3 separate regions of the Homo sapiens genome follow, and all the other regions are linked to region 3. The links are contacts of gene promoters, found by promoter capture Hi-C in blood cells and fetal thymus (Javierre and others, 2016). All regions are on one chromosome and are shown on one strand. Each heading gives the region's core, a stretch centred on a gene start or on the middle of the fragment in contact. The rest is flanking DNA. Distances are from core to core; before and after follow the strand shown.

Region 1 (3,595 bases), core at 258-2,757, 640 kb after region 3:
CACTATTATGTAAGAGAAAAAGAGCACCAGGCCTCCATGCATTCAGTCCCAAGGGCTGAAACTTACTACAAGGGATGCCGAACCTACCTGAAGGTGCCTGGCATTCTGGGACAGTTCTGTGGCCACAGGAGGAGTGAGCAAACCAGGAGGAGGGCCCAGAAGAGATGTTGAAGCTGTGCCTATGGGGAAAGAGAAGCAATCTCCAGGAACCGCCCCTACCACCTTAAGCACGAGTCAACCAAAGGATGTGGTAAATCCAAAGGCTACAGCTCCAGCCAGCTCCTCCACAGAGCTTCACTGGCAATCACTGTGGGCATCTCCTGCTTTCCAGAGGAACATCAGCAGCAAATTGCTCTCCACCAGGGAAACCCCAAACTAACTCCAGAGCACATACTTCCCAGGATGAGGCCAGGTAGGGAGAACAGTGATCACCTGAGAAGTTGCGTCCCCCTGGAAGCGGGTTGATCCGCTGGCGCTTAAACTGGGACATTGGGAACGCTGTCCTCTTTCAGAGTCGTGGGGAAAAGGCTTCAATCCAAAAAGAAAGAAATTAACAGCTTATAAGGGAAATTTCCATCTATACCCGGAAAAGTGGAGAATCTTAAGTAAGGATATTTCGGAAAACAGGGAGGTGGGTAATAAGAATGAATGAAAGCAATGGATGGAGAGAATATAGAGAAGAAAGAAATGAAACAAGAAATTACATTGTTCCAGTTTGCCCTGACAATAACCTAGTGGTGCATGATACTGTCATGCTGTTTTACAGACAAGGAAACTGATGCTCAGAGAGATCAAGAGACTTGCCCGGGGCCACATAACCAGGTAGTGACAAAACTGCTACTCACACCCAGGCCTCCCAACAACTTAGCGCTCCTCTCACTATGCCACGCCACCCCCAGAGTAGCTGGCGGGGTGAGGGGCTCGAGAGAGCCCCGATGACATTCCTTCGTTCAAAAACATCCGCCAAAACCCTCCACGCAAGGCCCGGAAAAATGGAGGAGGCCGGTGCCGGCGAGGAGACTGTGTGGGCCCTCTCCCCGGAAGCCCGACCCGTTGTTTCCTCGACCGGCTGGTGGGAAGGCAGCTCCCTGGCCGACCAAACGCGAAACCGGCTGCGCGCCACCCTCCTGCTCCCACGCTCCCGGGCCCTCCGCTCCGGCCTCAGCAGCCGCCAGCGCCGGGTCTCCCAGCAGAGCCGCGGCGAGGCCACCAAGGGAGGACTGAGGCGCGCGGTTTCTCCTCCTCCCGCCCGCCCCCAAGGCCGAGGCCGTTGCCAGGGAGACGGGACTTGCAGTCCAAAGAGGGGCTCGGCCCCTTCCGCGCCCCACGCATCTTCGCCGCCCGGCCCTCGCAGCCCCTCGGCCAGCGGAGGGGCGGAGGGGCGAAGGGGCAGAGGGGCGGCAGGGGGCCCCCCAACCCACCTGCGGGCCAGGGCAGCGACACCGGGGGGACAAAGACACCCGGAACCACCACAGCCGCTGCTGCCGCCGCCACCGGAAGCGCCTCTCCGGAAGCGCGACCACTGGTCGGAAGCTGCCGCTCTCCCGGATATGGTCCCTCCCTCGTCTCCGCCGACCTCTCCCTTCCCCCACGCCGGCTTGCCATCCCGCGGCAACTGGGGAGCGGAAGTGCGCCTTCCCGGATCGGATGCGCGTCAGGAAGTCGCGCCTCGGTAGTGTCCTCGCTAAAGAATCCCATCAGGAAAGAAGGCTTCGGATCATTGGTTCCGGGCTCAAAGGAAGCGGGAGCTGGGCCCCCCAAACACAAGGGACCCCCGACTGCCTACCACGCTCGCCTCCCTCTGGCAGTCGAGACTGCAACAGATAAGGAAACCAGCCCCTCCTGACTGGAGGAGAAGGATGCCTATCAGTGACCATTTCTAAGAGACATTCCTGGTCTGACTCAAGCCAGTGACCACCATGCCTAGCCAGTCAGGAATCAGTGCCCTAATTCTCAAATATGAAATCTAAGAGGCCTCAATGAAATGACCTGCTCAAAATCTTGCCAGGAGACTGGCCATTTTAGTCCCCATTAGCAATCCCAGCCCCCCCTTATCCTCCGACCTCCCCATCATCACTCCAGCCTTACTTTCCCCTTTCCTATTCACCTGAGGTTTACAAAGCACTTTGAGGCAGTTTAATCTCACTTTATCCTCATAACAAGTCTGTGAGGTAGATAGGGCAGGCATCATTATTCCCAGCGGGAAGCTGTGGCTCAGAAAGGTTGACTTGGGGTCTAAAAACTAGTACAGGCATCTGGTTTGAATTAAGACCTGTAAACGCTAGTACGGAGCAGAGAAGCTGAGCACTGGCTTTGAAAGTTATTCAGTTCCCAGGTTGTCCCTGATCTTCCTCATTCCTTGTGCAGTCTTCAGGAGTCCGGGGCAAGATTCCATGCAGAGGCAGCCAAAGCCACACCGTTCTCTGTCCCAGGGCTGCCAGCATGGCTCTGAGGAGGAAAGCTCAGTAACTGCCCACTGGGGAATAAAGGTCAGTTCCATCCTTCTGCAGTGACCTCCCCCAGAATATCAACCCTTTGGATGCATTATTTCAGAAGAGATGGTTGGATCCAGCCAGCTTGCAACACTGACAGTCACACAGAGATATGCATACCATTGCGCATAAATACACATCTGCAACATGCTGGGCCCAGACAGGTCACCATGCCAAAAACACTCCACGGACACCTGACAATGAGTGAGTTCACATTGTGGAAGCCCAGGGATTTCTGGTGAGGAGGAAGAGCCCTGGAGCTGCGGCATCTTGGGGGCCTCTCAAGAAACCAAGGTTCCTGACCAGACTGCTTAGAGGAGAAAGATTCAGCCCTCGACTCAAGAGAGGAGGGCAGGCGTCAGCAGCTTTTCCTGGCAATGTGGAGAAGCAGCAAGAGGGCAGAGGGCGAGGAAGACTTCACAGCAAGTCCCCTCCACCCAGGGTCACCAGGTGCACCGAGAGGTCTCAGCCTACAGAAAGGTTTTTTGCTCGTTGCTTCTTAACCACTAATGATGGCATAAAGGTCTTCCGGTGGGGGCGGCACTGAGGCCTTTCAGGGAGGTCCCTGGACTCGATCCTGTGGAATGAAAAGAAGACATTAGGCTAGAAGGGGGAAATAAAACTAACAATGGCCCTAGAGTTGAGAGAACGTGGTTTATCTGCTGGTGGGTAGCTGGGTGTGGGCGCAGCCCGGGGCTGTTAAATGACTTGGTATTTCTTCCTCCTGGAGAACGATTCAATACAAGCCCCGAAGCATGATGGCCTTCACCCACTGTGAAATCCTTTGTGCTCCACCTTGCTCTCCCCACGAACCTGGAAGGTGGCCTAAATGTCAGCATTGAGGGTGAGGGGTTGCTGAGCTAGGGTAGGCAGATTTCCCACATTCTGGTCCTAGCTGTCACTGACTCACCGTGCGGCTTTGGAAAAGCAACTACCCCCAACCCCACCCAGAACCCTGCCTCCTTATCTGTAAATGGGGTGTTTTAACTACTGTTTCTTCTAGCAGCCCCTCCCAGACTGCCTCTCAAGTTTTGCGGGGACAATAATGACAACTGGCATGACAATCTCAGCATCCTGGCTTATCAGTCTCCTCTCCGTGCCCT
Region 2 (3,735 bases), core at 1,092-3,591, 570 kb after region 3:
ACACAGGATAGCAGGATGCCTGACTGTCCCTCCTCAGCCCAGTGCCCCTCTAGCTGAGCGAATGAGCCACAGGTAAGGAGACCAAGCAGGCACATTCCAGACAGACTCCTGGGAGGACACCATTCTTTTTAGTAACCTCAAAGATCCTGCTGGCTGCATTAAAGATTTCGAGGTGACCTGTCAACAGCACAGCCCCAGAAAAATTCATATTTAGCTTTATCCAAGATATCACCAGTTCCTCAGACCTGCCCACTTCTCTGGGCTTGCCCCTCTGTTCACCTGCCTTTCCCATTCTCCTATTTCCCTAGGGCCTCTAGAGTCAACAAGACAGCTGACTTGGAACCTTGCAATGTTGGATACTTTGGGATGTGATCTACCCACTCCATCTTATAGATGAGGGGACTAAGGCCACAAAGGGGATGTGACTTATCTGAGGTCAGTTATAGTGTCAAAGGTTGAACTGGAAATAGAGCCGCAGACTCCTCCAGACTTGTAGTCCAGAACTTATCCATTCTAGTCCTCTAGGATGTGTCTGCTGCCCTCCAGCCCTGAAACAGACTTCTACTAGGATATAGCAGTTACCTAGGCTAAAACGTTTGGAAATATTTATCCCTGTGGGGCATAACTGAGGGAGGCAGAACATGGGGAAGGGAGGAAGCAGGTGGGAAAACTATTCACAGGTGCTAACTGCCAGGAGGCTCCTAAACCCACAACAGCCCTTCCATCCGTCACACTCTCTGCAAAGCAGCAAGGACTCTCTCTTTCCCTTTACCCACACTCTCTGCCCAGGCTACCCTTTGGTGACTTCTGCTCTTCCTCTTTACTCTTCAAGGCTGCTCTTGTGCTCATTTTGGCCTGTTTCCTGAGGAACAACATGGTAATGAAGCTGATCTGCATGATGTGCTTGGGGATCCAACCTCCATTGGAAACGTCAATTGAGTCAAACTATGGACTCTCAAGAATGGAAACAGAAAACACAAATGAGAGACTGCATCCTGTGGCCCACCCTCCTACCTCTCCTGCTCAAGCCCTCTACTCCACCCTAGGAGGTCAAAACAAATCATACACTACTTCTGCTCTAGGTCATTGGTCATATTTTTCCCGCTAGGTCATTGATTAGCAACCCCCTAAGCAGTCCCTGAAACAATCCCGGTCCATCTGAGGAAGGAGAATTCCTAGAGAGAAGGTCACTGGGGGCCCAGCAGCACCTGCACGGGCCTCACTGCCTTCTTGTCTCTCTTCCAAGGCAGGGAGGTACTTAGCGGTGAGGAAACCAAGTCGGCCCAGAATCCCAGGCAACTTGTGAGCCACTAAGGCCCTGAATTCTGACTTTGGGAGACCCGAGGCAAGTCAGCTGCTTGCTTGGTCCTGTCTGTGTCTTAGCCATGGTAAGTTCCCTCTGCCTGGAGCCTCGTCACCCCTCATCTCAGATTCACCTGGCTAGCCCCGATTCTGCCTTCAGGGCTTGGCTTACACACTGGCTCCTCCTGGAAGCCTTCCCCAAAACCCCATGTGCTACTTCAGGGTCCCCTTCTAGGCTGCCACCACACCTCATTCTATCCTATCCTATAGCATGATTATAATTGCCTGCTTGTCTCTCCCTCCAGGAAAGTAGCTCTGGGAAGGAACAAGAGCAGGGCAGATACTTCTCTGAGATAGCTGTATCCTAAGGTTGGCTCGGTACCTGACACTAATATTAGTGCAACTAGTATTAGTTAAATGAAGGAATAGAACGAATGGGGCAATTTACATCATTTGAGTCCTGTAGAGGAGACCAAAGGGAAGGGCTGAAAGGCAGGGAACAACTCATACTCTGCGTCTTATTGTGTTGAATAACTCTAGGAAACATTCCAACCTGAAAAGCACCTATCTATTGATATTCAGAGCCCTGTGCCATCTTGGAAGGGAAACGTCCGTTTGTTTGTAACAGGTAATGCATGTGTGGTGTACAAACTGTAAAAGATAGGAAAGAGCATTCAGAGAATGTAAGTTTTCCACTTTCTCCATCCCAAATGGCTTCTTCTCCCACAGACAATTGCTGCCACTGTCTCTGGATTAGAAACCACTTGACAGAGGGGACAGCCCGGCTAAGGGCCCTGCATGGTCAGGTGAAGAGATCTTTAGGAGTCAGTGTTGAAGGCAGAAAACGCCCCCAGAGGTTCCCCTCATCCCCCGTTGCAGCCTGTGTGTCTAAGCGCTTGGCCAGAGCCAGAGAGTCGCCGGCAAGGGAAACTCCGCGGCGAGCACGCAGCAGCAGAAGGGTTAACGCGCCGGGCTCCGCCTCCCAACCGCCTCTTCCGGGCAGAGAGGCGGGCTTACGTCACTTCCTGGAGACTGGTTGAATCCGGAAGTGACCCTAGAGAAACGAGTTGTGGCTGAGGACCCCGGCGGCAGACGCAGGTTCGGGACCATGAGCTGGTGAGTGAGGCCCAGGCGGCGGGAGCTGCTGGACCCGCGGACCCGCGAGGCCCCTGGCCCTGTGTCAGTGCCGCGTCCCGGCTCCCTCCGGTCCCGCGCGACCCCTCCGCCCCAGAGCAAGGCCCGACAGCCCCTGCCCTAGGGTCGTTCCCTCGGTGCTTTCCGGAGTCGCAGTCTCTCAGCAGGACTCCCGGGGAGAGTGGCGGATGATCCTCTTAGCCTGGGACTCCGCGTCTGACCCGTTTTGCCGGACTCGCGTCCTCCTAGCTCCTTGAAGTGAGGGACTTCCTTGTTCCCTCCTTTTTTAAACACCCATTGAGGTGGAGTCAGTGTCGTCTTTCTCTCCTGTGGGCATCTCTGCCCCGCGCCAGTCCCTCCAGAGCTGTGGCCCTCGCTGTGGCAGCCTGGACCCAGTTCACTAATCAAAACCCACTCCCTTCTGGGTAACTATCCTCTTTGCACGACTTAGCAGGCTTCAAAAGACAAGGAAAACTTGCTTCTCTTTTTAAAGGGGCCAGAATTACACTCCGCACACACCCTTCCACTGTGGGATTGGACTGGTTTTAATCATTCCAGAGCTATTACTCACTGCCTGCCCTCTAAATAGGCATGGTTAAGTTTAAACTTATGGGAACTATCATGCCATGAGAAAAGAAGCCAGGGAGTCTTAGAGTAATAGAGTCACAATTCCAGTTGCTGCAGTATGATGTGATACTTGGGTCATAGTAGACACTTCATAATGGTGTATTTATTTTGTAAGACTCAGTTTGCCCAAAAGGCAATCCCCATTTGTTGCTCTCGATTATTTATGTTCACAGGAGAGAATTGTGACTTGCCTGCCTTCCTGGGGCTTTCTTAGAGGTTAGAGAATACTCATATGCAGCACCTTACCTTACCGTCAGGCCCAAGGACCTATATAGCCACAACCCTGGACCTCAGGGGATTCAACTATAGTGTGTGAATAAATTGAGCCCCAGAGATGTACAAGATTAATCAGCCCATGGACATAGGGAACATATTTGCCACTCTGTCCTCAGAGGCTAGTGTGTTTGTTTATGCAAAGCGCATGATAACCAGTTATGAATGAATTAAGATAACAGAATGTCCTTCAGGAAGGCTTTTGAAGCTTAATTTTGGCCATCAGTGGAGAACGCAAGCAGCTGATATCAGTCAGTGTCAGGGATACTTCTCTAAAGTAAAATGCGAACCATCTGTCCCCTCCCCCACCTGTTTCTTAGACCAAGATTGATGGACAAATGTCAGACAATCACCGCAAGCACGGGAGGAAAGCCTGAAGCAATGTCCTAATAAGCCCCG
Region 3 (3,661 bases), core at 852-3,351:
ATTTGATAAGTTCTACCAAATATTTAAGAAAAAAGTTGTACCAGTTCTGTGCCATCTCTTTTATAAGATAGAAACAAAAGGAATACTTCCCAACTGATCCTATGAGGCAAGGATTACCCTAACGCCAAAACCACACAAAGACATTACAAGAAAGAAAAAACACAAAACAATATATCTTGTGAATATAGATGCAAAAATCATCAATAGAATGTTAGCAAATTGAAACCCACAATGTATCAAAAGAATTGTACACCAGGTTAAAGCGGAATTTATTACAGCTAGGCAAGGCTAGTTCAATGTTCAAAAATCAATTAATATAATCCACCAACAGACTAAAGAAAAATCATATGATCATATTGCTAGATGCAGAAAAAGCATTTGACAAAATCCAACACCAGCTCATGATAAAAAGTCTCGGCACTCTAGGAATAGAGGGACACATCCTCCACTTGATAAAGAACATAAACAGGAACCTTACAGCCAACATAAGAATTAATGGTGAAAACCTAGATCGTTTTCCAGTGGAATCAGGAATAACACAAGAATGTCTGCTCACACCATTCCTAGTCAACACTGTACGGGAAATCCTAGCTAACACAGTTAGCCAAGAAAAAGAAATAAAAGTTGTACAGACTGAAGAGGAAGAAATAAAATGGTCTGTCTTTATAGAAGACATAATTATCCATGCAGAAAATTATGAAAGAATTGCCAAATCGATGTCCTGGAACTAAGAGGCAATGAGAACAAGATTGCAGATACAAAGTTAATGTATAAAAGTCAATTCCCATATACCTATAATGATCAAGTGGAATATGAAATTAAAAATGCAATACCATTTACATTAGCACCCCCCTATAAAACTTAGGTATAAATCTAACACGGTATGTACAAATTCTACATAAGGAAAACTACAAAATTCTGATGAAAGAAATCTATGAAGGACTAAATAAATACAGAGGCATTTTATATTCATGGACAGGAAAACTCAATATTATCAAGATATCAATTCTTCCCAAATTGATCTGTAGATCCAGTGAAATCCCAGTGAAAATCATGGCTAGTTATTTTGTGGATATCAACAAACTAATTCTAAAGTTTATGTGGAAAGGCAAAAGACCCAGAAGAGCCAACACAATATTGAACAAATAAGTCAGAGGACGGATACAACCCAACTTCAAGAATTACTATAAATCAACAGTAATCAAGATAGTGTGGTATTAGTTAAAGAATAAACAAATAGATAAATGGAACAGAATAGGAATCCCAGAAATAGGCACATGTAAATACAGTCAACTGACCTTTCGAAAAAAGAAAGGCAATACAATGGTTCAAAGAGTCTTTTCAACAATGAGCACTGGAACAACTGTACACCTACATGCAAAAACAAAAACAAATCCAGGTACAGATCTTACACCATTCACAAAAGCCAGCTCAAATGGATCATGGACTTAAATGTAAAAACACAAAACAATAAAACTCCTAGAAGACAAAACATCTAGATGACCTTGGGCATCATGATTACTTTTTAGATACAACACAAAAAGCATAATCCATGAAAGAAATAATTGATAAATTAGACGTAATTATTATTATTATTATTATTTGCTTTCTGAAAGACACTGTGAAGAGAATGTGAAGATAAGCCACAGACTGGTAGAAACTATTTGCAAAAGACATCTCTGATAAAGGACTGTTATCCAAAACACACGAGGAACTCTTAAGACTCAAAAAAAAAAGAAAAAGAATAACCCAGTTAAAACATGGATAAAAGATCTGAGCAGACCTCTCACCAAAGAAGATCTACCAACGGCAAATAAGTATATGATAATATGCCCAACATCATATGTCATTGGGGAACAGCAAATTAGACAAGAATAGCATACTACTACACACCTATTAGAATGGTGAAAATCCAAAATACTGACCACACCAAATGCTGGTGAGGATGCAGAGCAACAGGAACTCTCATTCATTGCTGGTGGAAATGCAAACTGGTACAGCTACCGTAAGGTTGGCCAAGAGAAAAGACGAGTATACTCAAAGTCAGGCAAGCAAGTTTATTGACCTGCCGGCCTGCTGCATAACAGTCAGAGGAGGCAGCCCAGGGTGTTTAAGGTGAGGGACTTATATAGGGCTTTGAGGGCCTAGGGGCTTTCTGAGGTTAGTCTACATCCTGCAGTTGTTTGTCACTTCTTGCCCCACCTGGCTTAGAGTACCAGGATGTGGTTTGGCCTGGGGGTGGATACAGCTGTACCTAAGTTCTGGTAACGTGAAGTAGGGGCAGCATCTCAGAAGAAATAAGCTGCAGGGCATTTAGGGGAGGGGGCTTGCTGCGTTCTTCTGTGGACAGGTTGTCTCTAAGAGCTACTTTGGAAGACAGTTTGGTCGTTTTTCACAAAATTAAACATTCTCTTCCCATGCAAGTTTACTTATAGTTTAACTTTGAAACAAAGTATAACAGTCCTTTCCCAAAACAAAACTCCTTACTGCCTGTGGACTAGACTGCCTAGACTGCCACAAGATTAGAAGTTATGGTAATTTTACTAAATCAAGATGTAGCTATTTTCATTAAACCAGTATCAATGTCTTATTTATTAATGGTTACACGAGCAGAGATCATTCTGTCTTGGGCTGGGTTTATAGCCTGTGCCAAATTTTGACACCTAATAGTATTTGGCAGGGTTAAGTATGAAATTGCTTGATTAATAAACGCAAATAAAAATGTATGCTGGCAATTCCTAAGACATTTCTAATATTACTTTACCAATAATTTTAAAGATAGCTTATTTATTAAAGATTTTACTTAAGTCACATAACTTGAAAAAGCATTTGACTAGTCTTTCCTTTTTCTAATAAAGTATTTGATGTAAATGCTTTTATTTTTTAAGACAATTAATTAGAGCTCTTTGATATATTTTCAGGAGTGCAACATTGTATACATAACATATAAATACATAGATGTATTAGGCATGCTGATAGAAGAAGTACATCTTACAGATTCATAAAAACCTTTTTTCTTTATCTTAGACTTTCAGATTCTTGATAACCTGTTTCACAGTGCTAGGCAGTAGTCAGCTAAATAGTCTTAAATTTGCATATTAAAGGAAACAACTCAGGTGAAAGTCAGATAGCAAAATTTACATTATAAGGTCTGAAGAGAAATTCTGTGAGCTAGAGGGAAATTAAAACAGATTTAATTGCCAATTGAACATAAAATTATAGAAATTTATCACTGGATTGTATAAGGAGACCACTGTTATTTAGATAGGGACTACCAATTCTTTTTTAACTGGATCTCTGAGCTCTGGGCAGAGCCCACACTGAATCCTGGGTCTCCAAAAAGGGAGAATTATTATGAGGCTAGACCACATGATGCTTTTACAGTGCACTTAAAACATTTTTGTAAACAAAGCATTTCTAAGTGTCTAAACTATACTCTTTCTTAAAAACCCAAGAGTAGCCTCTGTTGCAATAACTATTTTAGTAAAAAAAAAAAAAAAAATCGAGTGGAAACAGAATTGAGTCAATTGAGAACAAAAAAAGTTTTTGCTCAAAAAAAGACAAGGTCCTAGCAGAGAAAAACAAAAACAAAACCATGAAGGCCTTTTAAATATGAACATGCACTTATGCACACATACACATACACATACATTTTAAATAT

What was found. Contacts are between HindIII fragments. The CHiCAGO score rates a contact against its expected background, and 5 or more counts as called.
Region 1: the fragment with the promoter of CCAR2 here is called in contact with the fragment with the promoter of CHMP7 in region 3 in 4 of 17 cell types (fetal thymus, activated CD4 T cells, total B cells and 1 more); the score reaches 8.5 in fetal thymus.
Region 2: a contact is called between the fragment with the promoter of BIN3 here and the fragment with the promoter of CHMP7 in region 3, in 3 of 17 cell types (neutrophils, fetal thymus and naive CD4 T cells). The highest score is 11.6, in neutrophils.

The regions. Positions count from the first base shown.
Region 1 is chr8:22,602,669-22,606,263 of GRCh38, reverse strand. CCAR2 (cell cycle and apoptosis regulator 2) reads right to left here and starts at 1,507. Exons shown (of 21, transcript NM_001393997.1): 1 at 1,422-1,507; 2 at 433-528; 3 at 88-179. The coding sequence starts at 490. C8orf58 (chromosome 8 open reading frame 58) reads right to left here. Exons shown (of 7, transcript NM_001013842.3): 7 at 2,122-3,069. The coding sequence ends at 2,958. It overlaps LOC107986876 (a long non-coding RNA gene), which reads left to right and starts at 1,264. Exons shown (of 1, transcript NR_160769.1): 1 at 1,264-3,131. RefSeq lists silencers at 1,090-1,149, 1,210-1,509 and enhancers at 1,173-1,673, 1,680-1,789. The HindIII fragment of the contact is 4,257 bases long and covers 1-3,595 here.
Region 2 is chr8:22,667,727-22,671,461 of GRCh38, reverse strand. It overlaps BIN3 (bridging integrator 3), which reads left to right and starts at 2,341. Exons shown (of 9, transcript NM_018688.6): 1 at 2,341-2,418. The coding sequence starts at 2,411. RefSeq lists enhancers at 2,172-2,231, 1,989-2,618 and a silencer at 2,482-2,641. The HindIII fragment of the contact is 6,679 bases long and covers 1-3,546 here.
Region 3 is chr8:23,242,077-23,245,737 of GRCh38, reverse strand. CHMP7 (charged multivesicular body protein 7) reads right to left here and starts at 2,101. Exons shown (of 11, transcript NM_152272.5): 1 at 1,894-2,101. RefSeq lists an enhancer at 1,908-2,409. The HindIII fragment of the contact is 15,350 bases long and covers 1-3,661 here.